Linked DNA regions of Homo sapiens: region 2 is linked to region 1. The links are contacts of gene promoters, found by promoter capture Hi-C in blood cells and fetal thymus (Javierre and others, 2016). All regions are on one chromosome and are shown on one strand. The core of a region is centred on a gene start or on the middle of the fragment in contact, and the rest is flanking DNA. Distances in the headings are between cores, read along the strand shown. Region 1 holds the start of PTK6 (protein tyrosine kinase 6). Region 2 holds the start of SOX18 (SRY-box transcription factor 18).

Region 1 (4,213 bases), core at 226-2,725:
CCCGCCCCCCCCTCACCTGGCCTCCCACCCCGTCCTCACCTGGCCTCCCGCACCCCCCTCACCTGGCCTCCCGCCCCCCCCTCACCTGGCCTCCCGCCCCCTCCTCACCTGGCCTCCCGCCCCCTCCTCTCCTGGCCTCCCGCCCCCTCCTCTCCTGGCCTCCCGTCCCCTCCTCTCCTGGTCTCCCGCCCCCCCCACCTGGCCTCCCGCCCCCCCTCACCTGGCCTCCAGCCCCCCCCACCTAGCCTCCCGCTCCCCCCCCCACCTGGCCTCCCACCCCCTCCTCACCTGGCCTCCTCCCCACTTCTCACCTGGGCGAGTTCTCAGGACTCAGGGTCTTTGCACCTGGGAGCTGACCAGCCTCCGGCCAGACCCCACCCCTGCACCCCTGCTCACTAACGAGGTCGTGGGTCTGCGCGTGACCCTGCTAACGAGGTCGTGGGTCTGCACGTAATAGAGGGGTCTCCACCATGGGCCCCTGCCCGACGGCCTCTTTACAGCCTCCCCTGCTTGTTGCTTGGGTCCCCCGGGAGCTAACCCTACACAGCCTGTGACTCACGCACACACACAGTGGGTGCCCAATCACTGATGAGAAACGCGGGATCTCAGGAGCGTGACCCTCCTCAGCCTGAGCTCCGGGCAGCTGTGGAAGCCAGGGCCAGGCCACACCAGCTGCTGTCTGGTTCCCCGCAGGGCACAGCAGGCAGGAAGTTTGCCCGGCAGCCGGCCCGCTCCCCTAACTAGGTCGTGTGTCTGGTTCCGGCACTTTGGAAACTGGGCAAGCTTCAAGCTTCGTTTCCCCCAAAGGCCCTGGAACGCTCCGACAGACCTTGTCACTGGCCACCGGGCCCCAGAAGTCCACCCTGGACCCTCTGTCCTCCCTGGGTCCCGGCAATGCAGCGTCCACCCCCGAGCTGTGACAAGGATGAGCCCAAGGCAGGGGCCGTGCCCTCTGACCCCCGTGCTCCAACTCCCGCAGGGACAGTCCTGGGCACTCCTGGGCGCCAGCGCATGGGGCCTGCAGGGAGGATCAAGCGGGATGCCCAGCCTGGACTTTGGGGTGCAGGAAGATGGAACCGGGGTCCCCACCTTCTTGGGCCTCCCTGAGCAGCCCAGAGCCCTGTCCCTCCCCTGTGCCTAGAGGGTGGCCTGTGCCAAAGCTCCCAGCAGCCTAGGACACGCACGGTTCCGACTCCACCGTCTCCCTCTCGGCCAGGTAGTTGTGGGGCACATAGCCCTGGGCCACGGCCCCACCCGCCTCGTCCAGCAGCGTGGCCCACCACCACTGCTCCTCCTTCCTGGCCACGTGGAAGACGTCCCCCGCGCGGAAGCTCAGCTCCTCGTCCGTCCGGGACTTGAAGTCCCAGAGGCCCACATACTTGGGGCCCAGGTGAGCCTGGTCCCGGGACACCATGGCGGGCGGGCGCAGCGGCAGGACCAGGCTGTGGCCCAGCTGGAGCACCCAGAGCTGGGCGTGGCAGGCGGGCCGTCCCACTTCCTCATGACAGGCCGGGAAGCAGCCACACCCAGCACCCACAGGCGCTCCAGAGCACCCCGGCTCCTCCTGAGGGCCCAGCCGGCCCCACAAGTCCTCAGGCCCACTGGGGCCCATCTGAGCACTTAGCGCCCGCACTATGGGAACCCACTGGGCAAGCACCGCCAGGGCCGGCCTGAGCGCAGGAGAGGGGGAGGAGGACCTCCCGGTTGGGGCTTCTTGGGGGTCCAACTTATGGACACTCAGGCACTCAGGGAAGCCAACGGCCCTCTGGGAACAAGCCTCGCAGCCTGAGGGCAGGAAGGTGAGGGCTGCAGGCGCTGCCTTCCCAACCCTCAGAGCTGCGGGGGCACAGGTGGGGGCCGCCTCTCTCCCCGCTTCCGGCAGCTTCCCCTCCACCCGTCGGTGCCCTCACCCAGCCCCAGACTCCACCCCTGAGCACAGGGCCCAATGTCAGGAGCTGCTGTGGGCAGGCGTCCTGAGAGCGGCCTCATGGGCAGGCCCGCCCTCGGGTAAGGGCCAAGCAGGGAAGAGGGAGTGGAATCAGGGCAGCGACAGCTGTGTGGGTCGGCCCGGAGGACTTCCCGGAAGAGGAGGGCCCGAGGGTTTTGGGGGATCCCCGGGGAGGCAGAGCCAGGGGCACCCACGGCTGAAGAAACGGGCACTGCCTTCCTCCACACGGACGCCAGGGGGCAGGCAAGGACCGTGAGTGCGGCCTGGAAGCGCCCATGGCGCTGGGGCCCAAGGCCACAGGTCCCTCCCAGGCAGCCCCTCCCGCCTCCAGCCTCTGCCTCCTCCTGTCCAGCCCGCAGGACCCCTGCCCCCTTCCAGCTGGCCTCCCTTCTCCCGACTCATGCCTGAGTGAGCCCTGCCGTGACCCCCACCTGCACCCGACGGCCGCCTGCCCCCCAGCCCCTGAGACTCGGGACACCCCCTCCCTGGAGGCCCCTCCCCGCCCCACCCTCCCACTGACCCTACTGTGTCCACCCGGGAGCTCCAACCCAGGGACCTGGACTGGCAGCCACAAGGGGGCAGGAAGGGGCGGGAAGGGAAATTCAAAGTCTGCAAGGGGTGGTAAGGAAAGTCCCTAAACTGCGTATTTCAACTTTTATTTTTATTGCAAAGAGAAATAATGGCACCTTCCACTCATTGTTTTGAGATTAAGAACAATAATCTGGATTATTTAACAGGCTCATAGATTTCTGGGCAGCCCAGCTCAGCGCTGACCAAGGTGGGGAGGGGCAGCGGGGTGCCGGCCTGGGCAGTGTCCCTCAGGCCCTCCCAGCTCTGTCTGGGGTCGGTTGGGGAGGATGCAGGGGGAGGGGTGGGGGGTGGGGAATGCGGAAGGAGGGTGCCGGGGCACCTGGCCGGGCAGCGTCCCTCAGAGCCCGGCCAGACTCTGGGCCCGTGAGTCTATGTCCAGGAAGCCTCGAGTATCCCTGAGTTCGGACGTGCAGGACTTTCAGTCTAAGCCACACCAGGAGGCAGGAACGTCCCCAGCCCCTCCCAGATACCCAGGAGCACCAAACCTGTTCAGCTGGTGGCTGGCGAGATGCCTAGGAGGGCACAGGTGCCACAGACACACCTGGTCCCCTTAATCCCAGTGGCGGCTGCAGAGAGCACAGAGGGCGAGGCCTTCTGTGCCAGAGGAGCCCCCAGGCTGCTGTGCTGGGGACCTGCCAGAACTGGAAGCTCAGCTCAAGGCCTCAGTGGGCCCAGGTACCAGAACCAGCCCCTCCCCTAGGTTCTCCCATGCAGATGGAGCTGGGCAGGTGGCCAGGGTCCCAAAGGCTCAGATAAAGCCTCTTGCCTCCACCATCTGCAGGGGTCCTGGTTCCTGCTGCTTCCCTCCGCTTGGCCTTGTTCCTCCGATGCACGGGCCCCAGGAAGCCCCCGCGCTGCCTCCGTTCTCGGAGCCTCCGAGTGGCCTCTTCCTTCCCCGGGGCCACCTGTCTCTGCACACGGGAGTCTCATCTCTTAGCTCCCTCCTGAGCCAGGCTTTGGCCGGGGCCTGTGGACGGCAGCCATCAGCACTTCGGCTCAGCAGGTACAGAGCTGACCCCAACTCTAGGGGACAAGGACTCAGTCAGGCCTGAACTTGTCTCCAAACTTTCTGTCCCCGAAAGCCTTCTGGGCACAGCTGCCAACCTGGGCTCCCAGGAGGGTGGGGGGCAGGGTCTCCGGGGGCCACAAACAGACCCCACCGGCCCCCTTGCTTCTTGACGTGTTTCACGAAGACCTGAGCAGAAGCTTCCCTGAGCCAGACGTGGGGAGACGAGGGCGGACCCTGCACATCCCTGCCCCCTCCTGCCTTGGTGACCCCCGAGGACTCACACCCAGAGGCTTCCTGAGCCACTTGCTGCCCAGCATACCATGGCATCTACCTCCGAGCCCCCAACCGACCCTGCCTGACCCTGCACAGGCAGAAGACTCCAAATCCCCCACGGCCCACCCTGAGGCCCCTGGAAATAGCCTCCAAGGGCAGCTCCCAGGTCACCAAGCCTCCCGGCCCACCCTTCCTGTGCCACCTGGAACCCACCCAGGGAGATGGAATCGGCAGCTCCTGCCAATGCCCTTGGGGCTCACGCTCTCTGGGCACCATGATGTCCTGGGCTGGGGGTCCGGGCGGCATGGGGGCCGCTCCAACCTGCATTTTCTAGCCACGTGGACCCGTACGCTCCAGCTCCTGGGTCTGGGTTTGGGGGGCTGAGCCTGTGT
Region 2 (4,384 bases), core at 837-3,336, 510 kb after region 1:
CCTCCCTGCAAACACCACAGATGTCAGTGTGCAGAGGAAAGGCCCGAGGATTTATTGTGGCCTCTCCGTCCGGGGACCCAGCTCCAGGCTCCTCCTTTATAGAAAGCAAACATCTGTATTCCTCACATTGCAAAAGTCTTTGCCACAGTGACGCTTCTGATCACTGAAACTTCTTGGAAGAAAAGTTTAAGAGTTTAATTAAAAATTAAATATATTGTATTAGGTATATTTTTTAAAAGGGCAAAGTAAAAAATATTAATACAATCTGGTTGTAGAAAATACACTGCAAGAAAAGGAGCAGGTGCTTCAAAAATGTAACCCTGGCAACTCTGCCAACAGGTCCTGGGCTCGGGCTTCCTGGAAAAGCCCCGGGACACGTGGGAACTCCAGGCACCCTCGCAGGGGCCCCCCGAGGGCAGGTGGCCCAGAAGCCCAGGAAGGGTGGCCTGGGAGGTGGAACGGGCGCAAGGCCGAGCATCACTGGCTCCTAGGGGGCTGTGACATGGAACCAAACATACACGCGTATGAGAGAGCAGAGCGGCAGCGACGCGGTCGGATCGGTCGCGGGGGCTGCGGGAGGAAGCGCTGCAGGGACCCGGGCGGCGCCGGCGGCCTAGCCGGAGATGCACGCGCTGTAATAGACCGCGCTGCTGGCGTCCGACAGCGCGGAGATCAGGCTGCTCTCCTCTGGGCAGGACATGGCGCGCGGGCCCAGTTTGGCCAGTGCCACGTGGTACGGGAGCCCGGGGGCGTCGGGCCGAGTCCGGCTGCAGTTGAGGTACTGGTCGAACTCGGTGAGGTCCACGTCGGCCCACAGATCGGCGGCGGGCCCCAGCGGCTCGGCGCTCTCCAGCGGCGGGGCCTCGGGCGGCGGCGACAGCGGGCCGGGGTACGGGCCGGGCGTGCCCAGGGTGCCGTAGTACAGGCCAGCGAGCGGCGCCGCGGGGGGCGCGGTCCTGAGCGCCTCCGCCAGGGGAGCCCCGTAGCAACCGCCGGGGTCCCGCGACAACTCGGTGGGCGCGTAGGGCGCGCGGAAGGGCCGCAGCGCGCAGTCCTCGGGCGCCGCGGGCGGTGGGAAGAAGGCAGCCTCGCCGGGCTCCAGGCCGTCCAGAGGCGAGCGCTCGGGCGTGGGCAGCCCCAGGCCGTCGAACTCGGCGCCCAGCGGGGGCAGCTCGCGGAAGGCGCGAGCCGAGCCAGACGCCGCGGGGAAAGGCTCGGGCGGTGGCTGCGGGGGCGCTAATCCCGGGAGCAGGAGGCCGGGCTCCAGCCGCCGGGCCTTGCGCGCCTGCTTCTTGCGGCGCGGCCGGTACTTGTAGTTGGGGTGGTCGCGCAAGTGCTGCACGCGCAGCCGTTCGGCTTCCTCCACGAAGGGCCGCTTCTCCGCCGCGTTCAGCTCCTTCCACGCTTTGCCTGCGGGCCGTGGGCGCCAGTGAGTGGAACGCCGTCGGGCGGGTGGGCGCCGAGCCCTCCGTGCGCCCGGGACGCCCCGCGAGGGTTTGGCGCAGCCCCCGCACCCCGCGGCCCGGGACCCCTGCCCCCCCCGCCCCACCCCGGCCCGAGCCCCCCCCGCCCTCTCCCCCTTCTCTGCCGCCCTCCCGCCGCTCACCCAGCATCTTGCTGAGCACCGCGTTGTGCAGGTCCGGGTTCTGCTGAGCCAGCCGCTTGCGCTCGTCCTTTGCCCACACCATGAAGGCGTTCATGGGCCGCCGGATGCGCGACTCGTCTGCCGCCTGGCGTTCCCCGCGGCCGGCCGGGCTGAGGCCATAGCGCCCCGGCTCGGGGCTGCGCGGGGGACTGCGCTGCGGGCTGGGCGGCGAGGCGGGCGCGGCGGGCGCGGCGAGGGCGGCGGGGCCGGCGGCGAGGCCGCGCGTGTCAGCGGCGGCCCCGTGTCCCGGGGCCCATGCACAGTCGCGGCGGGCGGGCGGGTCGTCCTGTGCGCCGTAGCCGGGCGGCGATCTCTGCATTCCAGCTGGGCGCGGCCTGGGCGGAACGGAGCGCGGGAGCGCGGCGGGCGGGCGGCGGGCACTGGGGAGCCGGGCGCAAGGGCAGGCCAGGCCGGGAGGGCGGATGGCGGTGGGGACGGCGGTGGCCTCGGGCCGGGCGGGCGCCCAGATATAGCGGCTCAGGGCCAATCGGCGGCGGGGCGGGCGGGCGGGGGCGGGTCGGGGCCGCCTCCTCCCCGGGGGCTCCCTTTCTTCTCAGGCCGGGCGGGATTCCGCTGAGGCCTCCCCCGCGCACAGCCCCCCCACCTCCCCCGCGACCTCTCAGAAGGAGAGACCCCCCGGGTGGGAAAGAAAGGGCTGCTGATGAGGGCCGGTGCTGCCAGACTTTCGGAGGCGAGCTGCCACCCACCCACGGAGTCGGACCCCCGGGCAGTAACTGGGGGAGGGCGGCAGTGTCCCGCTGGTTGCCGTTCCCCGCCCCCCGCTGGGAGGCTCCATGGGGAGGAGAGGGCCCTTTTTCACACCAAGTTCTGGGGAGGCTGCCTTCCCAACAGCCGGTAAGTCCTTCCTGGAGTGCAGCGCCTTCAGAAAAGGCCCCGTCTTTGGGGAGGCGCTCTGAGTCCCCAGGGGCGCCCATGCTGGAAACTCTACACCCATGTGTAACCGTCAGCACCAGGGACTTTGAGTGCCTTTATGGGACAAGATGGTCTTCTGTCCTCACTCCCAAACCAACTCTGGCACAAGGCAAAGCTGACACAGGGAGGGAGAGAGCAGAGGCCCTGGACGGAGCCCACAAAGAGAAGGGGGAGCAGGGACGCAGAGGCTGTGGCGTCCTCCCTGCCCCCCAAGGGCCCTTGGGGAAGGGGCTGGGACCCTCAGTGGCTTGCTGGCTCCCCTGCCCAGCCCAGGCCACCGCTGCAGCAAGAGGCAGGGCCTACCTGGGTCCTTCCCACTGGCCCCTCCCTGGACCCTCTGACCTGGGCGGGGGCGGGTTCCGGAGGAGCGTCCAGCTTCCTGAATTTTCACTGTCCCCTTCCTACTCCATCAGGAGGGGATCTGGGCTCCAGAGCTGAGGGTCTCCCTCTGGAGGTCCTCCCCTCCCACTGCCACGCATGGTTCTACTGGAGAAGGGTTGGGTGTCCCCAGCAGCCCTCCAGGCAGGGTCAGAATCTCGCCACCTCGCGGCACATCTCCTCATAGCCTGGAGGCTCCCCAGCTCCCCCCGCCACACTATGCCGGGAGCCCCATGGGTAGAGGCCACAGGTCTTGTGACCCTGAGCCTGTGTGGCCAGAAGCTCTTGGTTCTCTGTCCCTGCCAGCCTCGCTAGGCCACATCCAGCCTGTGTTATGAATGGGGTGGGCCCCACGTGGGCCTTGCAGTGCCCCTTAGAGGCTGTTCCTGAACTGTCCCCAGGGGCACTCCTGCCCTGAGGCCAGCACCCCCACAGGGGCACTCCCACCGAGGGCTGTCGCGGTCGGTGTCCAGCCCTCCCCAAAGCCCCACATCACAGTCTGTCTCGACGCCCATCGTCCCAGCATACGGGGCTGGGTCTCCCAGTCTGGTCTCCAGATCTCCCGTCCCTCCAGTTTGCCCCACGGGCCTAGCACCTCGTTCACAGACACTGAGCCAGTGCTGGCTAATGGGGGGCCCGTGGGGCACCAGGAGGTGCGGCCCCTGGCTTTTCTGGGGAGGCAGGCAGGGTTGTGGCCACAGGGATGGAGGGGCTCACAGGCCTCTGCCGGATGCTGCTAGTCCTCCTTTAATCTCAGTATGGGTGGCTGGACCCTTGGCCGAGTCTCAGTGTGGGTGGGCCTCCTGGGCAGCTGGCAGGAGGGTGCAGGGGGGGTGGGGAGCCGTGCGAAGACCCCAAAGGGCTACCACTTGGCGGAAGCTCTCTCTACTCACAACCTTAGGGTTGCAGTCAGGGGTCACCAGGGCCTGGCTCAGCCTGGGCAGTGGCTGGTCACTGCGGCCTGGGAAAGAGGTCCTCGGGGTCCTCTGCAGTAGCCCTCACACGTGGGGAAGGATTTGCAGTTCCCTGGGGGCCCTGCTTGGTCCTCTGCCACCCCCGAGAGCCCAGAGTCACTGGAGCTGCTCTAAACATAGTGGCAGGCAGTGTCCGGCATGACCTCATCGCCTCCACGTCCCCCACAACACCCACCAGCAGCCGCCTTGCCTGGCGCCAGCCAGTGACCCACCCTCTTGGCTGGGCTGTGGACTCAGGTGTCCGGCTGTCATGTCCTGTGAGTCGGGGCTGGGCGGGGAGCCTCCTGAGGTGCTCCTCTCCCTCTGCGTGGCAGGGAGGAGGCTGGCAGCCCTGGCCCAGTGTCCAGATGGGACAAAGTGGGGGTAGGGACCACAGCCAGGGTGGCGTGATCTGGAGCCGCAGGGCTGGGGGGACTTGCCAGGGCTGTAGAGGGGATGGTGTGGGTGTGGCCAG

The links. The method cuts DNA at HindIII sites, captures the fragments that hold promoters and counts their contacts. A CHiCAGO score of 5 or more calls a contact.
Region 2: a contact is called between the fragment with the promoter of SOX18 here and the fragment with the promoter of PTK6 in region 1, in 11 of 17 cell types (endothelial precursors, erythroblasts, fetal thymus and 8 more). The highest score is 9.8, in endothelial precursors.

What each region holds. Positions count from the first base shown.
Region 1 is chr20:63,535,901-63,540,113 of GRCh38, forward strand. It overlaps PTK6 (protein tyrosine kinase 6), which reads right to left and starts at 1,476. Exons shown (of 8, transcript NM_005975.4): 1 at 1,185-1,476. The coding sequence starts at 1,414. SRMS (src-related kinase lacking C-terminal regulatory tyrosine and N-terminal myristylation sites) reads right to left here. Exons shown (of 8, transcript NM_080823.4): 8 at 2,589-4,213. RefSeq lists enhancers at 1,575-1,664, 4,083-4,213, silencers at 1,785-1,934, 2,265-2,534 and a cis regulatory region at 4,168. The HindIII fragment of the contact is 2,955 bases long and covers 789-3,743 here.
Region 2 is chr20:64,047,553-64,051,936 of GRCh38, forward strand. SOX18 (SRY-box transcription factor 18) reads right to left here and starts at 2,087. Exons shown (of 2, transcript NM_018419.3): 1 at 1,607-2,087; 2 at 30-1,410. The coding sequence starts at 1,964. The coding sequence ends at 614. RefSeq lists a silencer at 1,777-1,826, an enhancer at 1,958-2,639 and promoters at 1,964-3,072, 1,967-2,864, 1,967-2,227. The HindIII fragment of the contact is 12,409 bases long and covers 1-4,384 here.